2 separate regions of the Homo sapiens genome follow, and region 1 is linked to region 2. Evidence: promoter capture Hi-C in human tissues and cell types (Jung and others, 2019). All regions are on one chromosome and are shown on one strand. The core of a region is centred on a gene start or on the middle of the fragment in contact, and the rest is flanking DNA. Distances in the headings are between cores, read along the strand shown. Region 1 has its middle 44 kb from the start of RAB33B. Region 2 holds the start of ELF2 (E74 like ETS transcription factor 2).

What was found. Contacts are between HindIII fragments. The study calls those that stand out against the background at their distance.
Region 1: a fragment that was not itself captured here is called in contact with the fragment with the promoter of ELF2 in region 2 in 1 of the 25 tissues and cell types used here (lymphoblastoid cells).

Annotation. Positions count from the first base shown.
Region 1 is chr4:139,495,591-139,500,419 of GRCh38, forward strand. It overlaps a transcript of SETD7 not described here. Among named protein-coding and RNA genes, the nearest start is that of RAB33B, 44 kb to the left of the region's middle. RefSeq lists a silencer at 2,205-2,499. The HindIII fragment of the contact is 5,185 bases long and covers 1-4,735 here.
Region 2 is chr4:139,175,071-139,179,998 of GRCh38, forward strand. ELF2 (E74 like ETS transcription factor 2) reads right to left here and starts at 2,148. Exons shown (of 10, transcript NM_001331036.3): 1 at 1,897-2,148. LOC105379412 (a long non-coding RNA gene) reads left to right here and starts at 1,085. Exons shown (of 4, transcript XR_007058273.1): 1 at 1,085-1,278. RefSeq lists an enhancer at 1,119-1,168, silencers at 1,769-2,728, 2,739-3,118 and a cis regulatory region at 3,485-3,609. The HindIII fragment of the contact is 12,940 bases long and covers 1-4,928 here.

The DNA.
Region 1 (4,829 bases), core at 893-3,392, 320 kb after region 2:
CTTTTAAACCATCAGGTCTCATGAGAACTCCCTCAATATCATGAGAACAGCATGGGGGAAAATGCTGCCATGATCCAGTTACCTCCCATCAGATCCCTCCCACCACATATGGGAATTACAATTCAAGATGAGATTTGGGTGGGGACACAGATCCAAACCATATCAGGGAGTTTTCAGTTATATAAACGTAATGTTTAATGATCTCTGATATATTCACTTTATAATAGGGATTAGTTGCCAGTGGGGCCAGAAAATTCAAGGAGCATGATTGCTTGGGCAGAGTTAGGTAATGTTTGCCTCTGTGACACTGTTTTTTTGGTACGTTTATACCTAATAACCTGGGTTTAAACTTTTTTTGTAATTTTTTATTGTGGAGATTTCAAAAACATATAAAAACACACATATAAGATCATGAACTCGTACTCATCACCCAGCTGAAATCCTTATCCACATGTGGTCAGTCTGGTTTTATCTACACCCACACTTCACTTCCCTTATCTCCCATATTAGCCTGAAGAAAATTCCAAATATCCTGATTGTTTTAAAAGATATTTTATCTAATCAAGTCCTGCTGGTTTGAGGGTCTTTTTCCCCCCTCTGGTGACTTTATTTATTGATTTCTCTGGCACAACTTATTAGGTATCTCTTTTCAGATCTTAAAATGGCTCCCAGAGTGCGATTTTGAGTTCTTGAGGGAAGCCTATGTTCTGACAATTGCCATTATCAGTAGGCAGAGTTCATTCCATTCGCTTTTATCTTTTCTTAATTACTCACGAACATCATTATGAGCATCAGTCCTTGGGCTGCACTATAAAGAGGAATGCCAGCTTTTCTGTGTTCTACCCAGGGCGCTTGATCCAGATGTGGGATCTTTGGGAGTGGAGCCCCAAATCTGCTTCTTTTACACGTTCCCAGGTGATTCTTCTGGCCACTGAAATTGGAGAAGCAACTGGCTGAGAACGTTTTCAGAGATTATTAAGGTACATAGATCTCAAGCCACGGTGCTGAAAAGCCAGAAAGGAGACTTTTAGAAACCCAGCTGCATTTTTCTAAATCTTCTCCATCCTCTCTTTTGCTGGCTCTGACTTTTCACTGGGTCAGAGGCTCTAAGGCTGGAACCTGATGTTCCACGGGGACTGTGTTATGGTTGTTCTTCTACAGAGTAAAGTGCATGAACTGAAATAGCTATTGACTGCTCAGAAGTCACTCAGTCTCAGGTTTCTGGCTGTGTTCCACATAGCTGTAGGTTTTGTAAATCGTACTTAGATAAGTTGTGTTCCTGTACACACACACACACACATGCACACACACAGAGTCCGAGTGCTATAATAATTCTGATAAAGAAATTTCAGAGGCCAAGCACAGTGGCTTATGCCTATAATGCCCAGCCAGTACTAATGATCTTATAACTCGTGTTTTACAGATAACTGTGCTCCAGGCAGAGAGAGATTTTAAAGACCTGTATGACACAGAAATGCTTCTGTTTGTTTTAAAAGATAAACCAGTTTTGTTCAACTTTGTTTACTGTAGGCGCCAGAAGTGCTATTAGCCCTCTTGAAATTTGGGCTCATTTAAAAATAAAGTCCGGGTGCGGTGGCTCACGCCTGTAATCCCAGCACTTTGGGAGGCCGAGGTGGGCGAATCACCCAAGGTTGGGAGTTCCAGACCAGCCTGACTAACATGGTGAAACCCTGTCTCTACTAAAAATACAAAAATTAGATGGGCATGGTGGCAGGCACCTGTAATCCCAGCTACTCGGGAGGCTGAGGTAGGAGAATCGCTTAAACACGGGAGGCGGAGGTTGCAGTGAGCCGAGATTGCGCCATTACTAAACTCCAGCCTGGGCAACAAGAGCGAAACTCCGTCTCAAAAAAAATAAAATAAAAAATAAAAAAATTTAAAAAGCCCTGGAAGTGGTGTCTTAATTTAGCTAATCAAAGTTCAACCTGATGATAGGAAAGAACATCAACTGAGTTTTCATGTTTTTTTTGTTTTTTTGTTTTTTTGTTTTTTTTTTAGACGAAATCTCTCTCTTGTTCCCCAGGCTGGAGTGCAGTTGCGCAATCTCGGCTCACTGCAACCTCCGCCTCCTGGGTTCAAGCGATTCTCCTGCCTCAGCCTCCTGAGTAGCTGGGATTACAGGCGGCGCCTGCCACTACGCCCGGCTAATTTTTGTATTTTTAGTAGAGATGGGTTTTCACCATGTTGGCCAGGCTGGTCTTGAACTCCTGAGCTCAGGTGATCCACCCGCCTCGGCCTCCCAAAGTGCTGGGATTTTTAAAATGTGTTAAATCATCCTTTCCCTAGAGGTGTTTGTTTTACAGCATGTCAGAAACAGTATGAGAATAAATCCTCACCACAAGAGGGAGCTGGACCATGAAGAAATTAATGGGTTGTTTTGGAAATAGAAATAAAAACTGGGAAAGTGCAGGAGATTTACGGTAAGACCATCAGTATCATCAGTGGTGACCGTTATTTGCACTAAGTGATTACTTCATTCTTTCAGTTGCTCAGATCAAAAACTGCGGAGTTCATCCCTGATTCCTTACTTCCTATTATATTAAAGCATGTCTTTTAATGCTGACTCTTTGACATCTAGGGCCTTGTGGGCTCTGGAGGGACTGCCCCCCACCCAGGGCTAGCTGATTCCTAGAGATAGCAAAGGCCTGGCACCTTTCACATGCAACCTAACCAAATCAGCCTCTGTGCCTACAACCACTTCCTTCTTAGGCCTCTTCCACTCCAAGCCACCATTACCCCAGGGTCAGGTACCAGACAACTAAAGACAGCCGGTACACCCCAGAATCTACTGAAGTTATTCAAGCTAGCCAATCCCAGGCCTGCTGACTGCCTCTCCATTTCTTCCTGCAGACACCACAATACAGGTTCTTGTCTACGTTTTCTCTTTACTCCATCTACCTCCTACTTGATCCTGGTGCTTCCCCATGTGGCCCCTGTAACATGGTGTGCCCCCTCCTCTTGGGAACTGTGAATAACAAACTATTGTTGGGGTTCAGAAGACAATATCCAGAAATGAAGGCCTCAGAGGCAGCTTCAGGAGCAAAGATTTTTCTCTGACTTTCTCCTGCCCTTCTGTCTCTGAGTCCCATCCTTCCCAGAGGCTGCCTATAGACCCCAAGGCAGATCCTGCCAACCAGAACTATTTTTCCCCAAAGCCAGCCATAAAACCTAAAAATATCACTCTAACTTTCCCTCTGCCTTTCTGTGTAAAAACTGACCATAAAGAAATTATCTCATGCCTGTAATCCCAGCACTTTGGGAGGCCAAGGTGGGCGGATCTCTTGAGGCCAGGAGTTGGAGACCAGCCTGGCCAACATGGTGAAATCCTGTCTCTTTTACAAATACAAAAATTAGGCATGATAATTGTTTGAACCCAGGAGGCAGGGGTTGCAGTGAGCCGAGATTGCACCACTGCCCTCCCACCTGAGCAACAAAGCAAGAGTCTGTCTCAAAAAGAAAAAAATTTTCTGACCTACCTTGTTTGACTATAGTCAGAAGACCCCCATTCCAGAAAGGGCACTAAAGCTGCCTTTGCAAAATTATAGTCAGAGAAATCTGACATAACTGACTATCTTGCTTCTACCAGGTTAACTTGCTTGTCCTCATTCTTGTGTGGAGGCCATAATAGTCCTTTCCTTGAACTGGTCCCTTCCTTGTTCAAAAATGGAAATCGAATTTGTAAAGACTAACAAGAGGACGCAAGGTTAGAATTATGGTAGAGGCTTGAACTTTGCTAAAGCATAGGCTGAGTTAAACAATGACCTGCCATTGCCAAGCTTGTTTTTCTGTAAGTTGCTTACTGCCCCAGAGTCGCAAGATTTATAACTTCCCCAACTACTCCTGTAGATAACATTACTACTGTGAAACCTGAAGAATCGGTCTTTGAGATATTTTTCAGATTTAGCATTTCAGCAGACCCAGAGATGCCACCTGGTCCCAAGACCCCCCCTCCCAGGAACTGATTCAGCTGCATGAAGACAGTTTAGACACCCCTGTGATTTTATCCACAGCCAATCAATCCTTTCAGTTTCCCAGCCCCCTTCCCACCAAAGTACCCTTAAAAACCCCAGCCTCTAAATTCTTGGGAAGGCAGATTTGAGAAATTTCTCCTGTCTTCCTGCTTGGCTGGCCCTGTGATCATTAAATTCTTTCTTCGCTGCAACATCTGCTGTTCTCAGTGCACTGTTTTTTTGTTTTCAGGGCAGTGGGCAAGAAGAACCCACTGGGTTCTGACAACCCTGCCCCATACCCAGAAGAAAGGAATGCATGCTCAGAGAGGCCAGGAAGAATCTAGACAGAGAGGTTTTGCTAGGTTTTCCCACTCAGCCTGTTAGCATTAGATCATGCCGTTTTTGTCCAAACATATTTCATACTTCATTGAACCTAAGTATAAAAATGGCCAATTTCCCCTATACCTTTGGATCATCATTCTAAAGGCTCTTGTGTATACACATTAAATAAATGTATGTGCTTTTTCTCCAATTAATCTGCCTTTTGATTTTGAGTTGATTTTTCAGCAAATTTTTGAGAGCGGCATTTGTCTCCTGATCTGTTGGCCTCACCATTCCTGAATAATCAGTGAAATGCCTAATGCCATATCTCAGCACATTCTACTGTTTCTTCCTATGATGCACGCCAGTTCAACCACTTCTCCTCACCATGGCCCCTCTGTCCTGCCCACCATCATCATGAACCCCCTGCTTCCACCTGGGTCCCTACTCCCACTCCAGCCTATTCTCAGTACAACAGCCTGAGTGATCCTTTTACACGTGGGAGGAAGATCTTGTCATTCTTCTGTTGAGATCCTT
Region 2 (4,928 bases), core at 898-3,397:
AATAAACCCACCAAACTGTACACTTTAAACTGAACTGACTAGTATGTGAATTATATCATCGTGAAGCTGTTACTCCTCCAAAAATGGTATACAACATGAGCAGGTAAAGCCACTAACATTAGCAGACCCTACAGGCCACAGGTACCAATCTGTTTACTTAGGACAGAAAAATCCCAAAGTTACAAATTCTTTCCAACCATACTCAAGCTGACTATTTTGTAAATGAGTATTTATGTCTGAAATGAAAGGCAATGATAAATCCAATGAGTTAAATCACTAAACTTAAAAATAGGTTGACATAAATATTCAAACTTCAAATGCCCAGGATATTCCAATTTTCTATTTCATGTGTTTAACTACTAGATATCGTCTCAATAATATTTACATGAATGTACTCTGTAAACTGTAATGCTCTATAAAAAGTTTTATTATTCCTAAATTCCCTTAAATGTAATTTAATGGTTTCCAGTCCTATATAAGTCATTCTACCTTTTGAAGAAACTCTGAAACACAAATATCCAATCCTTTCTTAGTAAAGCATACATCCTTCCGTGATTCTGGCACCAAAGAAAGTGCATAATTTACTTCAGGATAGAGAATCACAGATAAAAAGGAAAACAAATCTGATTATCAAACACACGATTACTATTCTCTCATCACCGGATTACAATTTAAACCATTAAGCTGAAGTAAATGTTCATGAACACAAGAAAGGGGGGAATTTTTAACAGTTTTACAATGACGTGTCCCCCTCTTCCTCATTTAATGAAGTACTAAACTTAAAGGCTATTCTGCAGCGAATCTGCCTCCTAGAAAGAGTCCATCCAGGATGCTGGCAGAGGGAAAAAGATTAGAAACTGTGCGATCTGGATTATTCTTGGTGTCACGGAATATTTTTTGAGTCCTTTATGGACATGGAATAAAAATGCCCAAATGGAGCAGAAGAGAGGGCTCGGCTACCCTGATCACAAAGCTCCTGGGGTAGAGTCAGCATCCAGCCCTGGCAGAGCCCTCCCTGTCCTCCTTCCGCGCCCCTAGACCATCCCGTCGCGCGGTCCCTGAGGACCAGCTTCGCGAGGATCCAGAAGGCGGTCACTGGACGTGCCTGTTACGAGCCCGTTTTTGTTTTGCTTAAGAAACAGATTCCGATCCGAGCAAAGCCTCCCTACCTCCCGGGGAATAGGGGGAGATGGCAGCACGGTGCCGGCGTGGAGAGCGAGAATAAAAGAACTGCCGAGTACAACCTGTCGTGCAAGCTAGCAGCGCCGGGAAGGAAAGGTAAGCGGCGGCGATAAGGCACGACAGGGAAGGAAACTGGTGTCCAGCGCCCCCCCCCGCCTGCCCGCCACCCAGAGCGGCCGGAGCCTCCCAGGTCCCGCCCCGAGCTCGCCGCCCAGCCCCGGCGCCGGCCGCAGACTCCCGCCCTACACAAACCCTCCCAGGACGCGCTTCCTCCGGAGCCGGACCCCCGCCCTGGCCTCCCCGCGGGATGAGGCGGGTCAGTTCAGTCCGCTTCTCGGCAGAGGTGACTCGCGCAGAGATGTAAACACGGAGAGACCAGCTGCGCTCGGCCCATCCCCCCCGCCGGGGTCTGTAACCTCTTCCCTCAGCCCTGCCCCGCGCCCCGCGCTCCCCGCGGGCAGGCGCGCAGCGCGCCTTCCCCTTTCTCCAAGTCCCGCTCCGCGACCGTTGCCTGGGGACACTCAGCCCCCTTCCCCCAGCCCCCGGCCGGTGTCACCGCCGCAGCCGCCGGAAAACCCCTCCGCAAACCCCGAAGCAAACAACACAAGCGCGGGGCGGGGGCGCGGAGGGAGGCGGCGGCAGTCGGGACAGCCAGGCTTTATCGCCGCGCCCTTCGCGCTCCCTCTCACCAGCCTCGGCTGCCCGCGCTCTTACCTGCTCTCCGCGACGCCTGGGAAGACCGCGGCGTCCTTTTCCCTCTCAGCAGGGCCGCGGACTAGCCGCCGCCGTTGGCCGAGCGTCCGGAGGGAGCCGGGGCCTCCCCAGCAGCCCGAGCCGCTCCACAGGGAGAGAAGGAGACAAAACAGAGGCTCGCCGCCCCGCGCAGCGACCCCCGCCCGCGCCGCCCCACCGACCCCCAACCGCCTAGGCGACGGCGGCGACACAGAGCTTGGCGCTGGGAGCAATGGTTGCCCCCGCCCCGCTCCGCTCCCGGCCCCCTCCCTCCACCCCCCGCCTCGGCTCCTCCCCCTCGGCCTCCTGCCGCCTCCACCAGGACACTGGAGTCCGCCTCCCCCTCCCCGCCAGCTCAGAGTGCTCCTCCCCTCCCCACGCGGCGGGGGGGCGGGGGCGGCACCGCCAGTCACCGCAGCGCCTGTCAAACGCGGGCCGGCTATTTATACCCCGCGGGGCCCCGCCGCCCTCGGGCCCCCACCAGCCCGCCGAACCTGCTTCTTTTGCTGTCTTGAATCCCGCCCTCTTCTCCTCGCCCAACTTCTCCCAAACCCGCCTTCCCAGGTAAAGACGCTCGTCACTTGTCCGGCTCCTTGCCCAGGGCTCCCCGATCTCGCTCTCCACTCCAGCCCCGGATTGGTGCAGGGGGCTCTGCCGCACGGGGCAGGCGTGTGAGGCCGATGGGGCCGCGCGTGCACCTGCAGCGCCCGCCGGCTTTCCCCCGCCGGCCGGGACCGCACGCACACACCCTCGCCACTCAGGGCCCCCGCAGGCCCCGCCGTCACCGCATCCCCAACTCAGGACTCTCGCCCTTCTCCGGAGACGGCCCCACAGTCGGGCAGTCTGACAGTTACAGGGGGGCGAGGTTTTGCAAAAACTCCTAGCCCGGTCTTTCCAGTTCCCACTCCTCAGCCTTGGCTTAGTGAAAGGTGGGGGTTCGGGCAGGAGCGCGACGCCGGCCCCGCCCCGGCCGGTGACGCACGTGGCGCACCGCCCCGCCAGCCTCGCGCCCCTCGGCGCCGCCAGCTCCTCCTCCCCGCTAGCAAAAGCCGGGCGTAGTACACCCGCGACCCCGCCCCATTCCCAGAAATTACCACCCGCCCAACAGCCCGGCCGCGCGGCGGTTGGTGCCGGCGTTTGCTGGCTGTCGGGTGGCTGGGCCCAGCGCGCAGCTGCGGAGCGCGGCGGGCGGCCCCTTGGAGCTGCCCGGGGAGCTGCGGGCACTCGCACCTAGCCATTGTCGCTCCTTGCGCGGTCCGCAACGGAGAAGTAACTCAAGTCTGAGTGTTGTTGGTGCGAGAATGAGAGAGTGTTCTGGTGTGGGAGTATTTTGGCCCAAGTGCCTGCGAATTCGAAAACGAAAACCCAGCAGTGGCTGCACGCTTCTGGTTTCCACACTTTCACACAAAGGGGAGCCTTCGAGCGGGGCACTCTCACGCGCCTTCAAGTGCACAAAAGCCAATGACACGGTGCCGTGGGTTGCCCTGTGTAGGAGCGTCTCTTTAATGGGCTTTGTAGGCACAGTTAATGCATACAAACGCCTCAGTCTATTTCTTCACCACCACCATTCCCCGCCGCGGCGTTTTCTGTATTTGTTTCTTTAACAAAGAGCACAGCCTGTCCGGTGCGCGCGGGGCTCCTTTTGCTCCCCTCCAGGGCTCCTGCAGCCTCGCCGCGATGGACCTGGCACCTGGCGCGGTATTCACCAGCTGATTTCTGGGCTCCAGCGTTACCCTTTTTACGGCTTCACAACCAGTCTGGAGCAAAGAAGAAACACTGAGGAATATAAGTGATAGCTGTTCTCTTGAAAGGGACGTGGGAACCGTGGAAATCACCCTAGAGTAAGGCTCAAATGTCAGAAAGCTGCAGGAGGCTCCAGATTTAAATCCCTGAAGAGCCTAAGAATGTAATGATCTCTTTCTTTTGTTAATACTGCTGTTGCCTCTATTTTCTTGGGGGTGAGTCTTCTCTTCCTTTCTTAAAAAGCAACTCTGGGCCGGGCGCAGTGGCTCACGCCTGTAATCCCAGCACTTTGGGAGGCCCTGGAGGGTGGATTGCCTGAGGTCAGGAGTTCGAGACCAGCCTGCCTAACATGGTGAAACCCCGTCTCCACTAAAAATACAAAAATTAGCTGGGCGTGGTGGCACACGCCTGTAGTCCCAGCTCCTCGGGAGGCAGGAGAATCGCTTGAACCCCGGAGGTAGAGGTTGCAGTGAGCCGAGATCGCAACACTACACTCCAGCCTGGGCGACAGAGCAAGACTCCTTCTCAAAAAAAAAAAAAAAAAAAAAAAAAGGCCGGGCGCGGTGGCTCACTCCTGTAATCCCAGCACTCTAGAAGGCCGAGGCGGGCGGATCACCTGAGGTCAGAAGTTCAAGACCATCCTGGCTAACACGGTGAAACCCCGTCTCTACTAAAAATACAAAAAATTAGCCGGGTGTGGTGGTGTGTGCCTGTAATTCCAGCTACTCGGGAGGCTGAGGCAGGAGAATCGCTTGAACCCGAGAGGCGGAGGTTGCAGTGAGCCCAGATCGCACCATTGCACTCTAGCCTGGGCAACGAGAGCGAAACTCCGTCTCAAAAAAAAGCAAGTCCGAGGGCTCTTATTCTTATTTAAGAAATTTTTACTCTTGAACACAGAGGAAACCTGGAGACCGTGACTGTTAATCAAAGATCCTCTTAACTCTTGACAAAGTTTTCTGGATTCCTGAGTTCTAAATCATGGGACTGTTGACACCCTTTTGAACTAAAGAATTTGTAACAATTTGGTAACATTCAAATCTTTAATACACAATAAACAGGATTCTGCAAACAGAGCACCCTTTCTAAGGGAGTCTTTTTATCTCACTTCTTGTAAATAACTTATCACTTATGGGAACCATTGCCCAATTTGATATTTGTAAGGAATTAATTAATAATCAATAATATTGCATCTTCATAACATAACATAGCATACTAAGGAGCCGGCAAAGACAAAGACTGATTCCTGTTGTTAGGGACAGATATCACCTGCC